Regions from separate parts of the Homo sapiens genome. Here region 1 is linked to region 2. The links are contacts of gene promoters, found by promoter capture Hi-C in human tissues and cell types (Jung and others, 2019). All regions are on one chromosome and are shown on one strand. Each heading gives the region's core, a stretch centred on a gene start or on the middle of the fragment in contact. The rest is flanking DNA. Distances are from core to core; before and after follow the strand shown.

Region 1 (6,671 bases), core at 593-3,092, 220 kb after region 2:
GGGGAAATGTTGGTCTTTAATATATCAAGTGAAATGCTAAGTAAGAATACTGCCAAGAATTGCAAAGAGGATGAAAGTCTATGTTCTACAGGAAATAGTAAAATAGATCCCTGAAGCAGGTAAGGTTGCCATCTGGAAAATAATATAGAATTTTAGATAGCTGTCACAGCACAGTGGAAGGCAGCAGAACACGGTTTATTGAGTTTCAAATCTGCCACTTACTAATCATCTGACCTTGGACAAGTCAAGGTCTTTCAGAATCTGTCTTGTCATCTGTGAAATGGCCATCACAATGCCTGCCTCAAGGCCTGTTGTAGAACTCAATAGAATTACAAATGCAAATCAATTAAAAAACTGCAAATGCTCTTGCAAAATAGGCTATTTTAAGCTTTAAGCTATTTCCAGTCCCATGGAGATTTCCTTTAAGTAAAATTACACATCCCTATTCTGTATATCTCCCTGTCTTATGCTGTGCCATCTTCTCAGAAAGCAACAGTTTTCAATGTTTAAGAATCAAATATGATTTATTTGTGATAAATCATTCAAATAAGTGGGTCAGAAAAGTTTCATGAAAAAGAGACCAGGATGCTCAAGTCAACAGCTCATGGCATGTGTGACTGACACTCAGAGCAGCACCTTCTCACCATGGGCTTTAGGAATCCTGAGCTGGATGGCAGGCAAATCCCGCCGTTTCCTTCTGGTTTTCATCTCTGCAGGCTGGCATTAAGGAAAAGCAAACTCTTCTCCATTTGCCTGAGGGAGGAGATGCCTAATTATCATGTTTCTGATTTCCCTCTGGAAGGCTGGCGCCAGGGCCTGAACTCAGCTCTCCCCCAAGTCTCCAGGGACACATGCTCCTGGAAAGCCTTATACATCGCCCTTCCCCCACCACAAACACACACACACACACACACACACACACACACACACCCCGCTGAGAACATGGACAGTGGCTGTCAGCATTTATCCCACCTAGCCCAGTACCACCACTCTGATACCAGGATGGAGACAGGAAGCAGTGGATGACTGACAACTGCCCTGTAGTGCACAGAATACCTCATGGGGCTTTGGCCATGCCTGTTTTAAGTATTCCATTCACATGGATATTCCACCACTGCATCGACAGTTTTTCCTCTGCGAGCAGACCCTGATTTTCTTATGTCTTCTCCTCATATTTAGAGAGCTTGCCTTGTAGGAAAAAGTACCCCTCCCCCACCCAGTATGTATTACTAACTAAAGCTGTTTCCTGCCTTCATTCTCTGCCCTCTTCTTCTATTGCTTAGGGAAACTATACAGTGAAAACTCAGAAAATATTTTATGCCCCTTAGGAACAAGCAATCTGAATGATTTCGCAGGGAAATCACTTCAAAAGCATCTGTTTCCACCCACCCCCTCCACTAGCCTGAGAAGCCAGAAAATGAAGCCATATTCTACAGTACAGACACCATCAAGGAGTAAATCAGTACCACAGAGACTGCAGCAAGGGGCTCTTGGTTGTATAAATACCCAGCCACAGCCTGCTCAATGCAGCTGGTTTAACCAGATCACAAGGCTTTCTTCTGGACTTCTAACCCTAAGGGCTGCCTTTACTCTCATTGCCAGTCTGCAGCAATTTCATGTATATGGTTTCCTGTCCTCTTTCACAAAATGGATGATGCTGACCCTGCTAAATAAGAGAGGTTCCAAACCAGTGTTGGACACATGCTATTAGCATCATATACAGCTATAGCTTGGTTCTGACCACATACTATATTGCCTATCTGGTATTATTTTTTCCTTCCTTCTCGTTCTTTTATTCCTTTCTCCCTTCTTTGCCACCCTCCTTCTTTCTTTTCTTCCTTGGAAAAGGTGGAAGTTAGGAAGTGGTGGAAGAGATGAGAAAGTGTAACTACACTGTAGTTATGACCTGTTTCTTTCAGATCATTGGCTCCACTTAGCCTTTAAAGCAAGGGCCAATCTTGAGTTCCCTTTGTGAAAGATTGTGCGTTTCTGACCCTGGGAGAGTGGGAAACTGGTCCATGAGCCGACAGTATTGGCATCACCTGGGCACTTGCTTAAAATGAAGAATCTCAGGCCCCACCCTGGACATATTGAACCAGGGTCTGCATTTTAACAAGATTTCCAGGTGATTAAAATGCAAGTTAAGGTTTGAGAAGCACTGGCCTATAGTATGGTGAAACATTACATTCACCTGCCAAGACTTTTCCTGTTCATTAAGTCAGATAGAACAACCTCTGCTACTGTGTGTATAAAATTACCAAGTTCAGGGGGTCCACTGATGGTATATACACAGGATTATGCACAGGCTTAGTGAGCTCCAGGAGGCTGAAATGTAAAGAATTGAAACACTGGGAGAGGCCATAGGCCCCCTGCCCCAGAAGTCAGTGCTGTCTAATGGCTCAGCTTCAGCTGAGAAACGACTCTCCAGGAAGACAGGCTGCCTCAGGCCTGGATTTTATCAGCTGCTCCAAGATAGCCCTTAAGCTCCTGCTGACTCTGACATAATGGACAATCCTGGACCAGAAAGCAACAGACCTGGACTCGAAGTCTACCTTTCATCTCATCCTGACTCCATGACTTTGGACAACTTACTAAACTGACCCTCAGGCTCCTCATCTCTGCAGTAAGACTTAATACAAGCTTAGCCAACTGCATAAGCTAGTTGTGAGAATCAAACAAAATCACGTTTAAAAACACTACACAAACCACAGTCAACAGTCTTCAACTGACATTTACTATTGTTAATTGGTATAGCATTGTAGAATTGTGAAAGGAAAATAAAATCTTGGGACCCCAAATTCACTATGCCAATGGGAAAAGTTAAGCTTGGAAACTGAGTCATGCAAAAAATTGCCTTTTCTTTTGTACCTAAACAGACAGCTACAAGGTAGAAGGCAACATGTCTTCCTGGGTGGCCTCCTTCACCCTGACAATGTAAATTAACAGCTTATCTTCACAGGTCTGGGACAAAGACAAGGAATCATCCTTCCACCCACCCAGGACAAATGTGTAATTGACTGTTCTTCTACTCACTCCTTTCACATGTAACATGTTGATTCAGTGAGTGCTAATCAAAGCCTCACAGGAATGTGACCACTTATCTCACAACCCACCCTCCCTTTTTTTCCCTTTCCCTTTTTCCCTCCTGCCGGATCTTTACCCTTTAAATATTGAAGTCCTGAAAATCCTCTTGGTAAAAAGCGTGAGCCCCAGATACTACTGTGGCTTGTGTCACTTTTTTCCAGGCACATCCTCAATTTTAGCAAAATAAACCTCTAAATTGATTGAGACTTGCCTCAGTCATTTTCTTTGGTTTGTAGAATAAAGGGAGCTTCAGATTGGAAGGGAATTAATAAATTCATCTCCTTCCTTAACCAAGGATTCCTTTTTGCTAGTAAGAGAAATCACCAACTCAGTTCTATGATCACCAAAAAGGAAAAAATGGTCATAAAAGAATGGATGGATAGATGGACAGATGGATGGATGGATGGATAGATGGCCAAATAAACATTTTATGAGCATGAACACTGTGTTGTTTTCACATACATTCCACTGATGCCCAATAGAGTATGACAGCACACAGACATCCTGTGGTAGAAACCAATTATTATCCTTCAGGAATGAAGGATGTATTCTTCCAGCTGTTGGAAGTTATACTGAATAAAGCCCTTAATTGTCAGCCTCCATTGGAGATTCCTTAAGCTAAAGAGAGCCACTTCATTCCAGGTTTCATCCAATAACTGCTCCACACAAAGGTATTAAAGCCCAGCCCACTTTCCCAGCTCAGGACACCTCTGAAGATTCAACTGTGTCTTCCACTGAGACTGTGTCATAGCTTTACTTGTTCCTCTGCTCAATCCTGCTTCATTCCCTTCTATTTCATAGGGACTGACCCCAGAAGCACTTCCTAATAAACTACCTGCTTGTTAATCTTCATCTCAGAGCTTGCTTCCCAGGAAACCATCCTATGACATATCCTTATATGAATTTTTTATGTGACATGCCTCTCTTGTCAACCACATGCATTCACTGAACACCCTCATGGTGACTCACAGAGGAACAAAGACTATTGGGGCTGGAAGGGAACTTAGGGAGCATTTTATCCAACCACTTCATTTAATAGAGAATATTCTGAATTTAAGTAATTTACCCAAGATCACTTTCATAGTTAATGGCAGAGCTAAAACCAAACTCCAGGTCTCCTGACTCATAATCCAATATTTTTCTATTACACAATGATATTTTCCCAGAAAAACAAAAGGTCTTTGTGCACACTTGAAGAAGAATGTAACACTCTACATCAGCTTACAAAGTCAAAGAGCAAGAAATCATTCAATAAAAAAAAAATCCTCCTACCATGGTTTCTGGTTTATTTTCAAAAGCAGATATGAGTAATATTTTGAAATACTGCTGGTTTCCTATTCTTCATTAATATAAATAAACAGATACATCAGCTTGGTTGGGCCAACCTCCATTTTTGATGATACATTTGAGTTGGAAAATATCTTAAGACGGATTCAACAGGATCTGTGCTGGGATCCTGGAGGGCCTGCTGTAGTTAAACACAAACTTTAAAGTGCTTCAAATAATTTCTATGAATTATCATCCTCATCCTAGGCAAAATGATCATAATTCAGATCCTGAGTTAAGACACAGAGAAGGCCAGGAAGATTAACAACGAAGGCTCCAAGGAGGAGATGAAGAAAAGTGGAGACACTTACTGTTCTTCTTAGCTTATAAACAGGGCATGACAACTTTTCTTCTTGTAATAAATCTTATGATTTTTCCTATGTATTCCCATAATACCTTGTATGGATCTTGATTTTTGTGACCACATGGATTATGATTATCCTTTTTCTCCCTAACTAAACTAAGAGTTCTTTGCAGTCAGGCACTGTGCTTAGTCACTTTGTTATGGCTGGAAGAGATCGCGTTATCCCAAGTTACTGGCTGCATATTTGTCTGGGTCTGTAGCAACTTCAGTCCTTGCCTCCTCAGAAAAAAGAATTCAGCTGAGAAATTCTTTTATCTCAGAAATTCAGAAAATTCTTTTTCTGAATTTTATCTCAGAAAAAGAGACTGAGATAAGTTTCAGAGCAGGAATGGAAGTTTATTAAAAAGTCTTTAGAATAGGAAAGAAAGAAAAGAACCCTTGGAAGAGATCCAAGTGGGCACCCGAAGGTCAAAGACAGAAAAAGAAGCAAAAAAAAAAAAAAAAAAAAAGTCGGGGCTTTAAGCTTGATCCTAGGACTTTATAGGCTTGCCGCTTTCCCAAGATTCTTCCCTTAGGGTGGTCTTCCTGCATGCACAGTGCTTTCCTTACCTTTTGGAATTGAGCACTGGCAGTGTGTTTAGGACGTCATATGCATGCTCACCTAAGGCTTTCTTCCCTTTTCTGATGGCGTGTTCCAGGAACATCATACCTTGCAACTTTTGTCTCTTAACTCAGAAAGTTGCTTTTCCCTGGGGCCTGCATTCAATTAACATTTTGACGTTCACGGGTATGGACCATGAGGAAATGGACTCTCCCTGGTGTTGCCAAATTATAATTTTTAGAGAGGCAATGCCATAATTGCTGAACCATCACCCAACATTCCTAGTGGGGTGCAGGGGAGAGCCCCCTCCTGTAACAACTCGAGTGCCTAAGTCTGATTAGCACTGATTGAATGTTTGTCAAATGCGTGAATAGTTGAATGAATGACCAATGTTGTGGTCTCCTCGTCATTTTTTCCTCAAAATATCTTGCCCATAGAAGCCTTTATAGGGCCTGAGGACCTCATGGGAGTCAGGAGCAGAGAGGAAAGTTAAGAATTATTTTATGTTATTGCAACACATTTTACATATTAGGAAAAGAAGCCAGAGGACTGAAGAGATAGAAGGATTGTGAACTTATGCTATCAAAAGAAGTGTGTTTTGTGTGGGGTCAATGCTTCAGAGGAGTGAGCAGGATCCCAAAGTATATGAGTCCAAAATTTTCTCACCCTCCTTACCTAACTTAGAACTTAGGTAAGCATTCTCAGTTCTTATGTTTTAAACCTCTTTCTCTGAAACCTACAAATATTCCTTCAGGTCTAAACCTCAGGATAAAACTGGAGAAACAGAGCCCCAAATCACATGCATAGGCCCCAATCTGCAGAATAAGGGCCTTCAGCCACTGATCTTTCTATGAACGTGAAATGGGAGAGAGCACAGCTGGGATGCCTACCTCAAGTCTTATTAAACTGGGAGCTAATCTGATCAGAGGCCCAGCTTAACTGAGGCCAACTATATTTCCTCAGGGTTTTTGCTGTCCCTGAGGAGGAGAGGAGTCAAGACGCAGATCAGAAATACAGTATAAGTGCTTTCACTGAGGCATGCCTACATTTGCAATTCAATTCAGAAAGAGAGAAAAGAAGATGGAACGGGCTACCAGGCTGAAGCTAAATGCCATGGGGTCACTGGGTTCCTTAGCAGGAGTGGCTATTCAAAGGGATAGGGGGGATCTAGGGAAGGGTAAGAAGCATCAAATGTATTCTCCGTCACTATGGAGAGAGAGGGGCCTCCTGGGAAATGGGGAAGATTGCATCACCAATTTGATTAGCAGAAAGAGCCAGGCCAGGACTAGCTGGGGTAATCCTATGCACTGCGATTTTTTAAAAACACCTCTATCATCTACTGTTGTTGCTTCTGAT
Region 2 (7,663 bases), core at 2,161-4,660:
TCGCCTGCACCAAGCAGCAAGGCAGCATCCTTCCACACCTTCCCAACACTGCAAGGAAAGGCAGAGAGGTCGGAATTTTAAACCACAGATCACACTCTCAGAGATAAGATTTATTTGTTGCATGAGGAAAAAAGCAGATATTGGCATGGATGGGGGGCTGGGGAGTAGAGGGACTACTTGCTTGCATGAAATTCTTTACACTTCAATTACAAACTAAAGTCATTATTTTTCAACAAAAGAAACACCTCATAGTTTTCTTGCTTTGTAGACATAAATCACACCTTGCCAAGTTTTTAATCATCTGCAATACACATGGCAATTAAGCTATTTAAAGTAAGCCCCAAGATATTTGAAAATCATAAGGCAATACAATATTAGGGATTATTTTATTTTATTCCTCCTTTGCCCACTCCTTTACCATATTCTCATCTCTACCCCACTCTCATTCTCTTCTTCCTGCTATAATAATCTATAGTGATAACTAATGGCTAATAGAGATCATTTATGCTTTCTTCTCACCCACTGGCAATGTATTCCAACTTAGAAATCCAAGGTTGCTTCTTTATGCCGCTCAAGTGGAAGAGGAAGGAAGTGCAAGCCCTTCAGCCCCCCTCCCACGTTTCTGCTGGATTTTATGGGTGTGGCAGAGCTTAGACCTTTGCAGGTTTTTGCCCTTGTTTTATTCCCTGTTAAGTACTACGATGATGAATAGATGCCAGCAGAAGGATGGGCACCACTGGATTTTGTCATAAATGATACAGAATTTCATCCACAAGCAGGCAACCTGCGTGAGACTTAAGTACTCATGCTACATAAATGCCAGTCAGTGTAGTGTGAGCCCACGCCCTGAATACACCATTTCCTTTAGTCTGATTGAATGGTATCCTAAATACTGGCTAATGTGAATGATACACAACAGTGGTTTATAAGAGACATGACCATTTCACACAGAAGTACACATTTATAAAATGCATGAGCAAAGTAGGACAATTTCTATACCTTTAATTTTCTCTTGAATATAAATGATGCTAAAACACAGAGAGGCATGTGGAAACCACTTACACATGCAACTGTAGCATATGAAGTATGTGGATGCTGTATACATTTACATGCGAATTTCTACAACTCTAAACACAATTTCAGCTTCATCACTTTGCACATCAGAGTGAATGCTTGGGGCTGTTGGTGAGATAGAGCCCCAGGGAAGGCAGCTGTCTTCATTTTGGGAAGGGAATTCCTTTAGCCCTAATTCCTTTTCTAAAAATCATACATGATTTCCTTTATTAAAGGAGATGTATGTATACTTGCATATGTACACATAGGGTGGGAACAAATTATGAACCTGAATATTTTTCTTTCCAAAATTAAAGCTTTTTAAGTGGATGGCTTTGGCTTACTTAGTGCTCCACCTTCCTAAATGTTATTTCCCCAGCTCACCAGTGAAATAACCTCAGGACTTTTCTTTGACAGTGTTCTTAACCCAGACACCTGTATTTATTACATTTATATATTAAAATGAAGGAGGACACAGAGAGAAAATGCCCTGGTTTGATAAAATGAGCCAATGGAAGCATCAATCTCTGTAACCATAGGGCAGTTTCAGGAGATGCTGCAAATACCGCCCCCAACTCAATCCCCCACTATCCGACTTTTTCCCCCAAATAGCCCCACACAATCCAGGATGTCTGCTTATTTATTTATTTATTTATTTATGCCAAATCTCTACTCCCACTGCTCTGACATTCTGCTTCAGTCTCCCATCCTCTTCCTGCTCCTTCTCCTTCATCCTCACTCCCCACCCTTCCTTCCAGGGCGCTGGCTAAATGTGCTAAGCTGGCAGGCTGTTTCTTCTCCACTCTCTTCCACCCCCTTCGGATTCAGGGAGTGTATTACAAATTGCCCAATTTCCAATACCTGCACTGGAAATTATACCCAAATTCCATCTCTTGCACCCCACCCCTAAGGCAATCAGTCTGCGAAGGGCTTCTTTGACCAAGATTGCCCCCACCACACCCCCACCCCCACCACAGTCAAGCATACGCACACACTCACCCGTATCCCACACCCATTTTTCTCTTTAACCTTTGCCAAAATCACTCAAATGCATTCCAACAAATGTTTGAAAGCTTCTTTTGGAGACTGCCATGGCATGGTCGGTTGCTGCGGAATACCACACTCGTCATTCCTTCCCACTCTCACCCCAATCAAGTTTCTAAAATGTCTTTCAAGAAATAAGCGAGCAATTGGAAATGGCTGTAAAACCTGGGCAGTGGGGGAGGGAAGGAGGGGCTCTGATTCTTGCTAATCTTGGATGTGTCCCTCTTCCTGATGAAAATGAGTCACCATACTTATTATCCAGGATGTTAGCCTGTCTCTGGTCACTGACAATCCCAGGAAAGAAGCAAGGGAAGGGGATAAGAGAAAAGACCTGGTTTCCAACAGGTAATACCCGGCTGTCTTTCCCATCCCATCGGAGCTCCTAGGGGCGTGGTCCACCCTCTCCTCCGACCAGCTGGTGCACAATCGGCTGCTGATCTTAGGAAGGGGATTTTCTCCTTCTGCATGGCCAATTTCTCCCCCAGCCCCAGTTGTCTTAGCTTCTCTTAAAAAAAAAAAAAATCTATCAAATCACAGTTTCATTCATTCATTGAAAAATAAATACTAAATAAATAAGACCTGCACGTTTTTCCATAAATACCTGCGCCCCTTCGAAGCTCATGCATGCACGAAATAAGGCATCTTCCGCAGCACATGTGAGAAAATTGTATGACAGAGAGGCAATACTCAGTTCTGAATATTATTTCCTCAACCCTGCTTTTTTGCAAATAATATAAAGAAATGCCTCCCCATCTTGTAGGTAGAGCCCACATCATCTCCCCCACACCCCTTTCTACGTCCACACCCTCAAGACCAGAGACCTCAAATGCTGAGCATTCACTAATAAGAAAAAAAAAAATTATTTCTAGCCAAACAGGCATGTTTTTTCTACCCTCACCCTAATTAGTAGCAGCATTCCAAAACCAGAGCATGAAAGACAGAAAAGAATAAAAGCTGGGATGCAACCATCAGTTACCATATGCTAAGGAAGCGCGAGCACCACGGCCAGAGCAGAAGCAGTAAAAAAATTGTTTGCCTTTACGGGGAAATACTGTACTCGGGTTATTTCACAACAGCAAGAAGTAAAAAATCTTTAGCTCTACCTGTTTGGTTCTTCTCATACAGCACAGCATGGTTGTCTCGTCCCTTGCCTTCTTCCTGCCTTCTCTCCTTTCCTTCTCTCTCTTTCTTATTCCCCCCCTCTCCACCTCTTTTCTGCTCGCTTGCTCACTCGCTCTCTCGCGCTAGCGCGCTCTCTCTCCCTCCCTCCCTCTCTCTCCCTCACACACACCAGGGCAGTTAGCAGCAACTGTAAGGTCCACAGCTATTGCTCATCGCACATGCTCGCTCCCTCTCTCTAGCGCTCTCTCTCTCTCTCCCTCTCTCTCTGGTGCTCTCTCTCCGCTGTCCTCTCTTCCCTCTCTTCTCCTTTTTTCTCCTTCCCCCCAATATCTATCTATCTGTCTTTTTCTTCCCTCTCTCTCCGTCTCTTTCTCGGAATTGTTCTCTAGCCTTCAGTGACTAATCACTTCCCCCAGCCCCTACCCCCATTCTAGACAGTCGCCCCCTCCCAGTCCCCTGCCAGCCTCATGAATATTTAAACACCTCCAATCTGGACCCAATTACCCACCGACTTTTCCACTGCATTGAGAGGGTGATGGGGTGGGGGCAGAGAAGGATATTCCAGTCAATCCAGGAGATATGATAGAGCATGTTTTAGGGAAGAGGGGCTTGAGGAATCCTTGTATTTCTTTAAGAACTCTTTTCCTCTTTTCCTAGTATTATAAAAGCAAAGAACAGCTATTTCTAAAGAGGAATTGTAGTCAGTCCTATACAATATAAGTCATATCTGCCATTACATTTTATGCATAGTTAATAATTGTGGAGGTTAATTTCCCTCAAAAAATGAAATAACATGTAAATATCATACACTGTTTATATATTCTTCTCAGTATACATATAACCTGAAATAAATACAAAGCTTAGATATGCACAAGCATATTTTATATATGTTCCAATATCCTGGAAAAAAATCCACATAAATATATTGCATTTTAAACATTCTAAGCACTTGAGCTCAGAAATAATAAACAATGTTTAAGAATTGGCATCCATATCTAAAATCACATGGTAGTTTTTTGTTTTTTCCTTAATGCACATATACCTGTTTGTAAATTGTGGTTTCTTCTAATTTTACTGAAAAAGCTGAGCACATTCAAACAGGTCTGTGTAATATTGACGGTGATCAAAATGATATTTTACAATTTGGGCATGAGAGATTAAAGTGAATTCATCTGAGATGAGAAGAAACGATAAGTCATGAAGCCTACTTCTTGAATTCCTTCTATGGCCTTTCATAATTTTGGGGGAGGAACATGTGACTCTTAAAGTGTGTATAGCACAATTTTTAGTTATTTATTGTTGAATGAGTTTGAGTGTGTTACTGAAGCTCTTTGCACCTAATTTTCTCATCTTTAAAATGGAGATAATAATGCCAATCTTGACAACATGTTTTGAGGACTAAATGATATAACGCATGCAAAGCACAACAGTCTCTCTGAGTGTATAATAGCTTTACTCCAGAGACTGTACTTTTCTGAAATTCGGGTGACATTTGCAAGTGAATATCTCAAAGAAGTTTTCAAACTATTTCTTGTTGTTCATTAGTGATGACAAGTACCCCTAATTAAACAGCTCATATTCTTCATAGTCCCTCCTAGACCTCCTAGACATAAACCTAGCTAATAAGTGGCAACTAGGCAGCTTATTGTTAGGCATATTTCAGGATCACTGAGCTCAATAAGTGCTTAGTACATTTTAACATAATTTAAGGTATATCTATTTCAAAATGGACTATCTCAGACAGGTACCTGGGAACGATGGTGATGATGATACCCAGGAGGTGATATTTAAAATTAGCCTTAATTATTCCTCAGGAGTCTTCCTGAGAGTGGCCTGCTTCAGATCCGCTGATTTGGTCTTTCATTCTTCTCAGTTTGCTTCCTAGTTTTCATATTTATGATTAAAAAACAGAATTAGTTTCTGAGTTTAATAATTTTTTAATGTTACAAGGAGCCCAGCCGCTTTCAGAACAGCCTTCCGTGATTTTAAGTGATAAAAGAGGACAAAGAGTGGGTGAGAAATGGCTCCTACCAGAAACATTCCGGTTGCAGATTAGGAACACCCTACCTAGCCTGCTAGTGGCTAAAGAGCAATGAAGGGAGGAGGCAGAGAATGTGGGGATTGGGGATGATGGAGAAGAAATTGCACCTTTTGGTGTTTAAACAGGATAACTCCATTGATAAGACCATTTCATTAACTATGTGGCCAAACTTAAAGAGTGGGACTAATTCCTTTCCCTTTCGATGTACTCACCTCAGCCATCCCATTTATATTTTTCCCCCTTTATATATGGGAAGGAACCTTGGAAACAAAGTGGCATAATGAAGTTAAACAAGCTAGGGCTTAAAACTGGGCACAAGCATTGATGAACTTTGTGACTAAATATGTGAAACCACCCAGCTCAGAATCAGCTTCCTCATCAGTTTACATGCATTATTTTATCTAATACTCAAAATGAGGTAGGCACAAGTAGTAATCCCATTTTGATGGGGATGCTAAAGCTAAGGGAAGTTAAGTGCCTTGACTAAGTCACAGAACTAAGAAGTAGTAAAGCTAGGACTCTATGTCTCTTAACAACTAGGCTACATCAATCACCACTTAATAGGCCTCTACTCTTCATTACTTCTAGTCCTTAAGAGATTAAACTACATAGTGGAAGTTTTAATGTTGAAATGAAATCAGCATTCAATGTTGAAATGAAATCAGCAAGATCCATCTTTTAGGCCCAACTCTTACTTCAAGAGCCATGGAGAATAAGCTGATATCTTCATGCAATAGAGAGCCCTCTATGTATTTCTGATGAGATGTCTGCTCCTTCAACTACCCTCAGGTGTCTCAGTGTGTAAGGTCCTCACCATTTTGGATGCCTTCCTCTGGACATACTACATTCTGTCAATGAACCTTTAAAAATTACCTCCCAATTTGGAAGCCTAAGATTCCAAATTTAATTTGAATAACATGGAATCAATTCTAATGCATCTTTTTCTCTAAGCAATGGTGGTTATGGATGGCAAAAGAATAAGGGAGAGACAAGCACAAACTGATATGAGCTTTGCAAAAAATATATAAAAAATAAAATAACCGATGTCCCGATTTTTGCCAAGCAAATACACAATAGACCCACTAATCCTTGTACTTTATAACTAATCCTAGACAATGCATAGGCTTAAGCCCCATGGCTAACCCTTTTACAATTTTAGATTAGCAAATTAACTCATAATACTATCAATTAACTTCTTGACTATAGGTTAGACAATAATAACATTCTAGAAAAAGATGAAGAGTGGTGGAGGCCAGATCCCAGTTCCACGCTCAGATCTCTTTGAACTTTATACTAAAGTGATACTGCTTGTATAATAAAACCAAAAGTCACTGACCTTTACTAAGGGCTCTGTAAAATAGTCTACCATTTTAAGATTATGGCTGGTACTTGAGAGAAGACAATGTCATCAATTCAGGTAGAAAAGATGTTAGTCTTATTTCTCCCTTTTTTAAATTTTATTTTATATTTTATTTTATTCTATTTTATTCTGAGACAGGTTTTCTCTTTGTCGCCCAGGCTGGAGTGCAGTGGTGCAAACATAGCTCACTACAACCTTGAAATCCTAGGCTCAAGCAATCTTCTACCTCAGCCTTCTGAGTACACAAGCCTTCTGTGAACTACAAGTACACGTCACCACTCCTGGCTAATTTTTTTTTTATTTTTTATTTTTGTAGAGACAAGGTCTCATCATGTTGCCTAGACTGGTCTCAAACTGCTGGCTTCAAGCAATCCTCTCACCTCGGCCTCTTCTCTTATTTTTTCAGTGCTTAATCTAAGCCTTTTACTTGCTGCATTAGTTTTCTAGCATTGCCGTAACAAAATAGCACAGACTGGGTGGCCTAAAAAACAGAAATGTAATTTCTGACAGTTCTGAAGTCTGGAAGTCCAAGATCAGGCTGGTGGCTGAGTTGGTTTCCTCTGAGAGTCCTAAAGGAAGGTCCTTTCCAAACCTCTTTCCTGCACTTGCAGCTGGCCGCCCTCTGCTGCCTCTGCACATGGCATGGTTGCCCCCCTGTGTGCATGTGCACCTCTGCTCTCTGTCCCTGTGTATCGTAAGCTCCCCTTCATAAGGACACCAATCAAATTGGATTAGGGCCCACACCTATGGCCTCATTTCACCTTAATTTTCTCTGTAAAGGGTCACATTAAAGATCTCCAAATACAGTCACATCTTAAGGTACTGGGAGTTAGGTTCCAACATATGAATTTGCAAATAAGGGGGACATAATTCAACCCAAACACCTGCTTTCTCTGTCCATACTTGCTGTTTTCATTCACTTAATCTATAGTTTCTATGTTGCAAAAATCATCCTTCCCTCAAGGAAAGTCACACGTACATGAAAAGCAAAGCAAACACTGTGTGCACAAAATATGATTCAATGTCAAATGTGTTTGATAAGA

Evidence for each region. The method cuts DNA at HindIII sites, captures the fragments that hold promoters and counts their contacts. A contact is called where the count stands out against the background at its distance.
Region 1: a fragment that was not itself captured here is called in contact with the fragment with the promoter of GAP43 in region 2 in 2 of the 25 tissues and cell types used here (dorsolateral prefrontal cortex and thymus).

Annotation. Positions count from the first base shown.
Region 1 is chr3:115,399,769-115,406,439 of GRCh38, reverse strand. No RefSeq gene overlaps it. Among named protein-coding and RNA genes, the nearest start is that of GAP43, 220 kb to the left of the region's middle. The HindIII fragment of the contact is 4,378 bases long and covers 1-4,031 here.
Region 2 is chr3:115,619,257-115,626,919 of GRCh38, reverse strand. GAP43 (growth associated protein 43) reads right to left here and starts at 3,410. Exons shown (of 3, transcript NM_002045.4): 1 at 3,201-3,410. The coding sequence starts at 3,230. The HindIII fragment of the contact is 4,830 bases long and covers 1,749-6,578 here.